Linked DNA regions of Homo sapiens: region 2 is linked to region 1. The links are contacts of gene promoters, found by promoter capture Hi-C in blood cells and fetal thymus (Javierre and others, 2016). All regions are on one chromosome and are shown on one strand. The core of a region is centred on a gene start or on the middle of the fragment in contact, and the rest is flanking DNA. Distances in the headings are between cores, read along the strand shown.

Region 1 (4,184 bases), core at 453-2,952:
TCTGCCTGCCTCGGCCTCCCAAAGTGCTGGGATTACAGGCGTGAGCCACCATGCCCACCCTGTGCCTCAGTTTCTCCATCTATAAAATATCACTTAACAGGGTTACTGTGGAGATGAAGAGAGCATCATGTAAAGTGCTCAGCAAGCTGCCTGGCACATGCACTGGGTGAAAGTTTTCAAAGCAAGTAGACAGTCTAGATAGGCTCTTACTAGGCCTTGAGCTAAAGTTTGTACAGTGAGGCAAAGGCAAGCCCCCGCTTAGGTGGGTACAGTCACAGCCTTGCTCTGGAGAATTGGGCACTCACCTCCAACCTTCAAGGCCAAGTGCACACTTGGCATTCAAGTCCTTCTCCCAGGGGGCCTTTCCTGACTGCTCCACCCACCAGACTCTCTTCCCAGCCTCTCAGCTCAGGCGTCGGAGCCCTGGCTGGTCTCAGAGCCCCCATGATTTCCTTCCCCTTCTCCTTCACAGACCAGCTTGGCACAGGCTGGGCACACAGGAAGACTTTAGCTGACGTACTCACTGTGGGCTCCTGGTTGTGAGCCAGGAAGCCGATGGCAATTCCTCAGTTCCCCAGAACTGGCTGCAAAGTAGTGGCAGGTGTAAATCACCCACTTCACCGGAATCAGGGCCCTGGGGAACCTGCCAGGGCCTCGGCTGCCCTTTTGGCTCTGAATCTAGACCAGCAGCAATAGAGAAAGGGGAGGGTTGCTGTTTCCTCTTCTCCCCAAGAATGTACAGATGAGATCCAAATATCCAGTTTACCTGGAAGACTGGCTGGGAGGAGACTGAGTCTGAGGCGAGGGAATCAGCACCAGTGGTGCTGCTACTCTCTGTCCCTGCTATGGGTCTAGGAACTTTCCATTATTTTAAGTAGGGCTGGGGGATGTAGAGGAAACGGAGAAGGTTTTCAGTGCCCCTGGTCCAGGTAGTTTTCAGCAGATAGGCCCCTTTACCCACTTCTTTTCTGTGCGGAACACTGCGGCCTCACAGGAACTTAAACCCTTTCCCGGTTAGCAGAAGGAGAAAAAACCGGTTGCCTTACAACGGGGACTGGCGGGGAATAGGTGGCCCATACAGGCGGGGGGAATTTGTGCTGCGTTGGGTTCTCAGTACTTCCCAGTCCTCATCTCTCTCCTCCCAATTATTTGGCAGGAATAACTTCCAAAACCCACTGCTCCCAACCCAAGTCCTCAGGACCATCAACACCCCACTCACTCTTGGGGGACAAGTAATGGACGTCACTCCATCTCCACCCCAGCGTTTACGGATTGATCTGGGAGGGATTCTGAGCAGTTAGGTGGAGAGTTTTAACTACCTCCTCTCCAGCTTAACTCTGGGAGCATGAGTTCGTCCCTCCCGGCCCTACACTAGGGACTCGTCCCCTTGGCCCATGGATTCAGCACTCACCAGCTCCATCTTCAGCGCCATGATCTTGTCCCCCAAGTCGTGGCCGGTGCTAGACGCCCCTGGGAGCAGCAGGGCGCCAGAGGTTCCCAGCTCACACTCGCCTCGCAGCCCGCGGAGCAGCCCTTCAGGGGTCTTCCTGCCCACCTTACCCTCCACATCCCGCAGGTCAGGCGTCTGGGACTCCACGGTCCCCTCCATGCGGGCCCAAGCCTGAAAAGGGCTGGGCGACCGGACGCCGGGGACCGGCTCCCGGGGGTCCTCCCTTCGCCGCTGCTAAAGCGGAGCAAAACCGGTGGGTCCCCGCCCGCGCGGCGCGGGGGCGGGAGGAGGGCGCCGTAACACTCAGAAAAGCCGCGCAGCACCGTCTGTGGATGTATTCGAGTGCTGCGCACACAACCTCTGGCCCTGGATTGCGTGGGGCTGGGCGATTCTGGAGTTGGACCTGAAAGAGCACTCGGAGACCTCAGCGCCTTCGCCCCACCCTGGCACTGAATCCAGCCAGGCACACAGCAGGCGCCCAATACATGTTTGCAGAATGAAGTCTAAGCAGCTTCAGTCAGAGATGTGGGAGTTTAAGGAACAGCGGTAACAGAGAGCTGCAGAGGGCTTGGAAGTCTTCCTGGAGCAGAGGAATTGGGTATAAAACGATGACTGGATTTTAGCTAGACACACACACACACACACACACACACACACACACACACCACCCCCCCCCCCCAGGGGCTAGAATTCAGGCTAACGGAGTAGAAAAGGGCAACCAGTACTGAAGCTGAAGAGGTCCACGTTGGGCTTACAAGCAAGATGCTCCTTAAGCTTGACTGTGCGTATGAATTATCTGCGGATCTTGTTAAAATGTAGGTTCTGATTTTGTAAATCTGGGGTGGGGCTTGAGATCCTGCATTTTTTTTTTTTTTTTTTTTTTTTTTTTGAGACAGAGTCTCGCTCTGTCGCCCAGGATGTAGCGTGGTGGCGCGATCTTGGCTCACTACAAACCTCTGCCTCCCTGGGTTCAAGCAATTCTCCTGCCTCTGCCTCCTGAGTAGCTGGGATTACAGGCATGCGCCACCATGCCCAGCTAATATTTTTGTATTTTTAGTAGAGACAGGGTTTCACCATGTTGGCCAGGCTGGTCTTGAACTCCTGACTTCAAGTGATCCGCCTGCCTTGGCCTCCCAAAGTGCTGGGATTACAGGTGTGAGCCACTGCGCCCAGCCAAGATCCTGCATTTCTAATAAGCTCCCAGGTGATGGCCATGCTGCTGGTCCACACTTCAAGTAATAAGGGACCACACTTTGAGTAACAAGGTTACAGAAAATGGTTCTGAGATGTTTGGGTTTTATTTAACAGGTAATGAACAGCCATGAAAACTCTGGTTTGTTTAGGCTTTTAATTCAAGTAATTCCAGCCCATGGTTGCAGAAGGATTTACAATGAGAAGATAGTTACCCCTACCCTACCCTTTCACACCTCTAGGCCCACTCCCAATTGGCAAAAAATAACTTTTAGTTTTTTTTTTTCTTTTGGTGTTCATACCCATAACGTTATTGTTTAGAGTTAACTAAAAGTGGTTGCCAATTGGGAGTGGGCCTAGAGGTGTGAAAGGGTAGGGTAGGAGTAACTATCCTCTTATTGTAAATCCTACCACTATTTTTTCTTTTTTAGAGACAGGGTCTTCCTACATTGCCCAGGCTGGACTCAAACTCCTGGGCTCAAGCAATCCTCCTGCCTCCCAAGCAGCTGTGACTACAGGAGTATGCCACCATGCCCAGCCACACTACTTCTCAATTTTAAACATTCATCTGCTGTTTATTGTCCTATTCAGATAAATATGGATATATGGGTTTAACTCACACTCTGTAGTTCCTTTCCCCCATTGGCAATATATATTTCTTTTCTTTTCTTTCTTTTTTCTTTTTTTTTTTTTTTTTGAGATGGAGTCTCACTCTGTCGCCCAGGCTGGAGTGCAGTGGCACGATCTTGACTCACTGCAACCTGCCCTCCTGGGTTCAAGCGATTCTCCTGCCTCAGCCTCCTGAGTAGCTGGGATTACAGGCACGTGCCACCATGCCCGACTAATTTTTGTATTTTTAGTAGAGACGGGGGTTTCACCATGTTGGTCAGGCTGGTCTCGAACTCTTGACCTCGTGATCTGCCTGCCTCAGCCTCCCAAAGTGCTGGGATTACAGGTGTGAGCCACTGCGCCCGGCCTGGCACTACATATTTCTATCACTCTTTTTAGTTCATCTAAGGTTACCTTTGTAATTAACTTTTTTTAAAATTTAGATAGAGTCTCGCTATGTTGCCCAGGCTGGTCTCGAACTCCTGGCCTCAAGCAATCCTCCCACCTTAGCCTCCCAAAGTGCTGGGATTACAGGCATGAGCCACCATGCCTGGCCTACCTTTATAATTTTAAGTAACATCATTTTCCTTGGTACTTTTTGATCCATGGAAGGGTTTTAAGTTAGAGATAGACAAAACATTTGTCTTTTTTTTTTGAGACAGAGTCCGGCTCTGTTGCCCAGGCTGGAGTGCAGTGGCACCATCTTGGCTCATTGCAACTTCTGCCTCCCAGGTTCAAGCCATTCTCCTGCCTCAGCCTCCTGAGTAACTGGAATTACAGGCACCTGCCACAACACCCAGCTAATTCTTGTATTTTTAGTAGAGACGGGGTTTCACCATGTTGGCCAGGCGGATCCATCCGCCTCAGGTGATCCACCCGCCTTGGCCTCCCAAAGTGCCGGGATTACAGGCATGAGCCACCGAACCCGGCAACA
Region 2 (4,184 bases), core at 493-2,992, 590 kb after region 1:
ATGTATAACTTAGCGTAGCTTAAAAAAAGTTGATATACGATTCAAAATTTGGACTTTCTCCCTAAAATCTAGAGAATGGGTCCACATACTGTCTTAAGTCATGACCATGTCACTGATATTTTAACAGTGAAATGTTGGCTCACATACTAACACACAAGAACCCCAGGATCAAATATATCCACCCATCCTAGGCATGAATAAAGGGTCCCTAATCCATAATCAAGAGACAGTTATCTATAATAATCATGCCTAGGGCTGGGCATGGTGGGTTATGCCTATAATCCCAACACTTTGGGAGGCTGAGGCAGGAGAATAACTTGAAGCCAGGTTTGAGACCAGCCTGGGCAGCACAGCAAGACAGCCGTCTAAACAAAATAAAATTAGAGAACAAATTAGCCAGACATGGTGGCAGACATCTGGAGACCTAGCTATCTGAGAAGATGAGGCAGAAGGATTCCTTGAACCCAGGAGGCTAAAGATACAGTGAGCCCTGATCATGCCAGTGCACTCCGGCCTGGGCAGAGACAGAGATTCTATCTCTTAAAAAAATAATAATCGTGCCTAAACTAGGTAAGCTACAGTCCTGCAAACTAGCTGGGCATGTTGGCACAAGCCTGTAGTCCCAGCTACTTGAGAGGCTGAGGTGAGGCGATCACTTAAGCCCGGGTCTAGGCTGCAGTGAGCCATGATCATGATCACCCCACTGCAATCCAGCCTAGGCAACAAGAGTGAGCTCCAGTCTCCCAAAAACAGAAAAAGGCTGACAACAGTACTGAGTGGCTAACAACATACCTTGTTTTCAAGGACTGAATCATTTGGCATTTCTTCGGTCTTATCATTTTCTTTATCATCCTCTTCTGAGCCTTCAGTTTCTACAAGTAAAAATTCCTCAGTATTGAGAATATAACTAAGAACGTATTCTGACTAGTCAGAGATTCCAATACACGTCTCAACCTATATTCAGATAGGACAGGCCAGATGCTAATCCAAGTGAGTTAACACCTGAACTGAATATATCGTCAGTGGGTGCAGTCTAGTTCAAGTGTAACCTAGACTAAGAATGTGCAATCTTAGTCTATGGGTCAGACCTTCAGCAATTAAAAGGCTGAGTGTTTCTCTTATAAAAGTCAACCTGGACCATTCAGAATAAGAAACATTGGCTACTGCCTCTTATTCAATGGCTAGAAGCTCCCATTCATTCAGCCAGAAGCAGGTGGAGACCTCAGTCAGTGTTTCTGGTATCTTTAAGCCACTCATTAGATAATACTAATAGCCTGGGAAAGTACGAAAGTTAAATTATTCCAGTCCATTCTGATCAAGAATGCTCAAGAGACTAGCTTTCCCACAACAGAGATGTGGAGCAAAAAGCATAGTCCTTACCGACTTACACCAATGAGCATGCCACAGACTCCAGCCAGCTCTAGCACATACAGAATTTGAGTAAGGAATACTATAACCCCTATTTTACTCCTATACCTTTGCTAATGACACCTCTAAAATCTGCAGCCATATATCAACACCATATTTCACCATATTGAATACACTCACAAGTCAACCATCTAAAGGTCAGGCTCCTAATCAATAGCGCTACTGTGATTAGACAAATCAACAATGTTAAGTGATTAAAATAAGCTTTCTGTTAACACAAACAACTCATGAATTGGATATAATATGCCTCTCTCTGCCATCTTTCATTATGCATTTTTAACACCAGCAAAAAAGCTCAAACACTATCTCCAAACACTCTTACTATGGGAATATAAATATGGCAATTAGGACTTAGAGCAATCGTCAGGTCAAAGGAGTTTTATCAGCAGCAACCACAAAGAGATTCCGTTTTCAAAGAAGCTTAGAAAATACTTTAACAGGGTCAGGCGCGGTGACTCACGCCTGTAATCCCAGCTCTTTGGGAGGCCGAGGCGGGCGGATCACGAGGTCAGGAGATTGAGACCATCCTGGCGAACATGGTGAAACCCCGTCTCTACTAAAAAAAAAAACCAAAAAACAAAAAAATTAGCCAGGTGTGGTGGCAGGCGCATGTAGTCCCAGCTACTTGGGAGGCTGAGGCAGGAGCATGGCGTGAACCCAGGAGGTGGAGCTTGCAGTGAGCGGATTATCGCACCACTGCACTCCAGCCTGGGTGACAGAGCAAGACTCCGTCTCAAAAAAAAAAAAAAAAAAAAAAGATACTTTAACAAATTTACTGAGGACATCAGGGCATTGCCATTGATACCTGGGCACAAGTTGGGAAAGGTTTTAAAGTAATGGCAATGGCTGCCAGGCGCGGTGGCTCACACCTGTAATCCTAGCACTTTGGGAGGCCAAGGTGGGCAGATCACCAGGTCAGGAGATTGGGACCATCCTGGCTAACACGGTGAAACCCCGTCTCTACTAAAAATACAAAAAATTAGCCAGGCGTGGTGGCACATGCCTGTAGTCCCAGCTACTCGGGAGGCGGAGGCAGAACAATCACTTGAACCTAGGAGGCGGAGGTTGCAGTGAGCCTAGATCACGCCACTGCATTCCAGCCTGGGTGACAGAGCAAGACTCTGTCTCAAAAAAAAAAAAAAAAAAAAAAAAAAAAGTAATGGCGATGGCTTTCTCCTTAACCTAGCTCCCCACCATTCCTTGAAGATGGTACAGATTCCTCAAGAGGAACCAGTAATATTCTTCTGAAGCAATTATAGGAATTTTAATTTAAAAATTTGATGTAAAACTTCCAAGTAATTAAGATATTTTGTTTCAAATTAGAGGTTGTCTTCTAGTATTCTGGTATGAGTAGGAAGAGATACCAGGTAAGAATAGAAGATAACAATATCAATTTAATTTTTCCTACAAATTGGGAAGATGAAGTATTTACTTTTCTATCAATTATCCTACATATGTAAATCTACTTCAGCTTTTCTGCATATTCTGCTAGAGGATGGGCAGAGTTAATAAGACCATCCATCTGGTCTAACTTTGGGGAACTAAGCCCGGACCCACTTGGAAATGTGGATATGAGAAGATAATGGTGTATGGTGGGCCAGGTGCAATGGTTCACACCTGTAATCCCAGCACTCTGGGAGGCTGAGGCTAGTGGATCACCTGAGGTCAGGAGTTCGAGACCAACCTGGCCAGCATGGTGAAATCCCATCTCTAGTAAAAATACAAAAAAATTAGTCGGGCCTGGGGACATGTGCCTTTAGTCCCAGCTACTCAGGAGGCTGACGTAGGAGAATCGCTTGAACCTGGGAGATGCAGGTTGCAGTGAGCGAGACCGCACCACTGCACCCCAGCTGGGCATGGTGATACACACCCATAGTCTCAGCTGCCTGAGAGACTGAGGGAGGAAGATGGCTTCAGCATAGGAGTTTGAGGCTGTCGTGAGCCATGACTGCGATGCCACTGTACTCCAGCCTGGCAAAAGAGCAAGACCCGATTCAAAGAGAAAAAGAACAGACCAATTATCTTTATTAGAAGCAAATGTACAGCCCAACACATGGCAAAGAGTCAAGAGGTGGCAGTAAACAGGGTTTTAATTTTTAAGTGAAAAAAACTGCTTGGAAGTTTTCTGCAGAATGGTGCTGCCACGTAAAGGGAAATAAAGCACAGAAAGTAAGTGGTTGAGTACTCAAGCCAGAAGTTTGGGTAGCAGGCTTCTCCTTACTGTGTGACTAGGGCAAGTTACTTAAACCCCTTTCTCCCATTTCTTCTTTTGTAAAATATGGAAAACTGTATTGTCTTTACAAGCAGAACAGTATCTGATATACAACACCAAAAAATGCAGCATATGAAAAGCCTGGGGCTTTTAAAATATAGTTAACTTTTTAAATAAGTGACAGATTTTTTTTTTCTTTTGGAAGACAGAGACTCGCTGTGTTGCCCAGGCTGGAGCACAGCGGCATGATCTCAGCTCACTGCAACCTCTGCCTCCCGGGTTCAAGCGATTCTTCTGGTTCAGCCTCCCAAGTAGCTGGGACCACAGGCGCATGCCACCACGTCCAGCTAATTTTTGTATTTTTAGTAGAGTCAAAGTTTCAACATATTGGCCAGGCTGGTCTCAAACTTCTGACCATGTGATCTGCCCACCTCGGCCTCTCAAAGTGCTGGGATACAGGTGTGAAGCTACTGCGCCCAGCCCACGACAAAATTTCTAAGCAGTGGGTGTAGGAAAAGGATGAACACTGTCTTCTTCAATGTGT

The links. Contacts are between HindIII fragments. The CHiCAGO score rates a contact against its expected background, and 5 or more counts as called.
Region 2: a fragment that was not itself captured here is called in contact with the fragment with the promoter of LURAP1 in region 1 in 2 of 17 cell types (M0 macrophages and M1 macrophages); the score reaches 6.2 in M0 macrophages.

What each region holds. Positions count from the first base shown.
Region 1 is chr1:46,200,852-46,205,035 of GRCh38, reverse strand. LURAP1 (leucine rich adaptor protein 1) reads right to left here and starts at 1,702. Exons shown (of 2, transcript NM_001013615.3): 1 at 1,412-1,702. The coding sequence starts at 1,609. It also overlaps a transcript of POMGNT1 not described here. RefSeq lists a silencer at 1,662-1,781. The HindIII fragment of the contact is 3,345 bases long and covers 1-2,226 here.
Region 2 is chr1:45,609,857-45,614,040 of GRCh38, reverse strand. It overlaps NASP (nuclear autoantigenic sperm protein), which reads right to left. Exons shown (of 15, transcript NM_002482.4): 7 at 793-872. Among named protein-coding and RNA genes, the nearest start is that of CCDC17, 12 kb to the left of the region's middle. The HindIII fragment of the contact is 216 bases long and covers 1,635-1,850 here.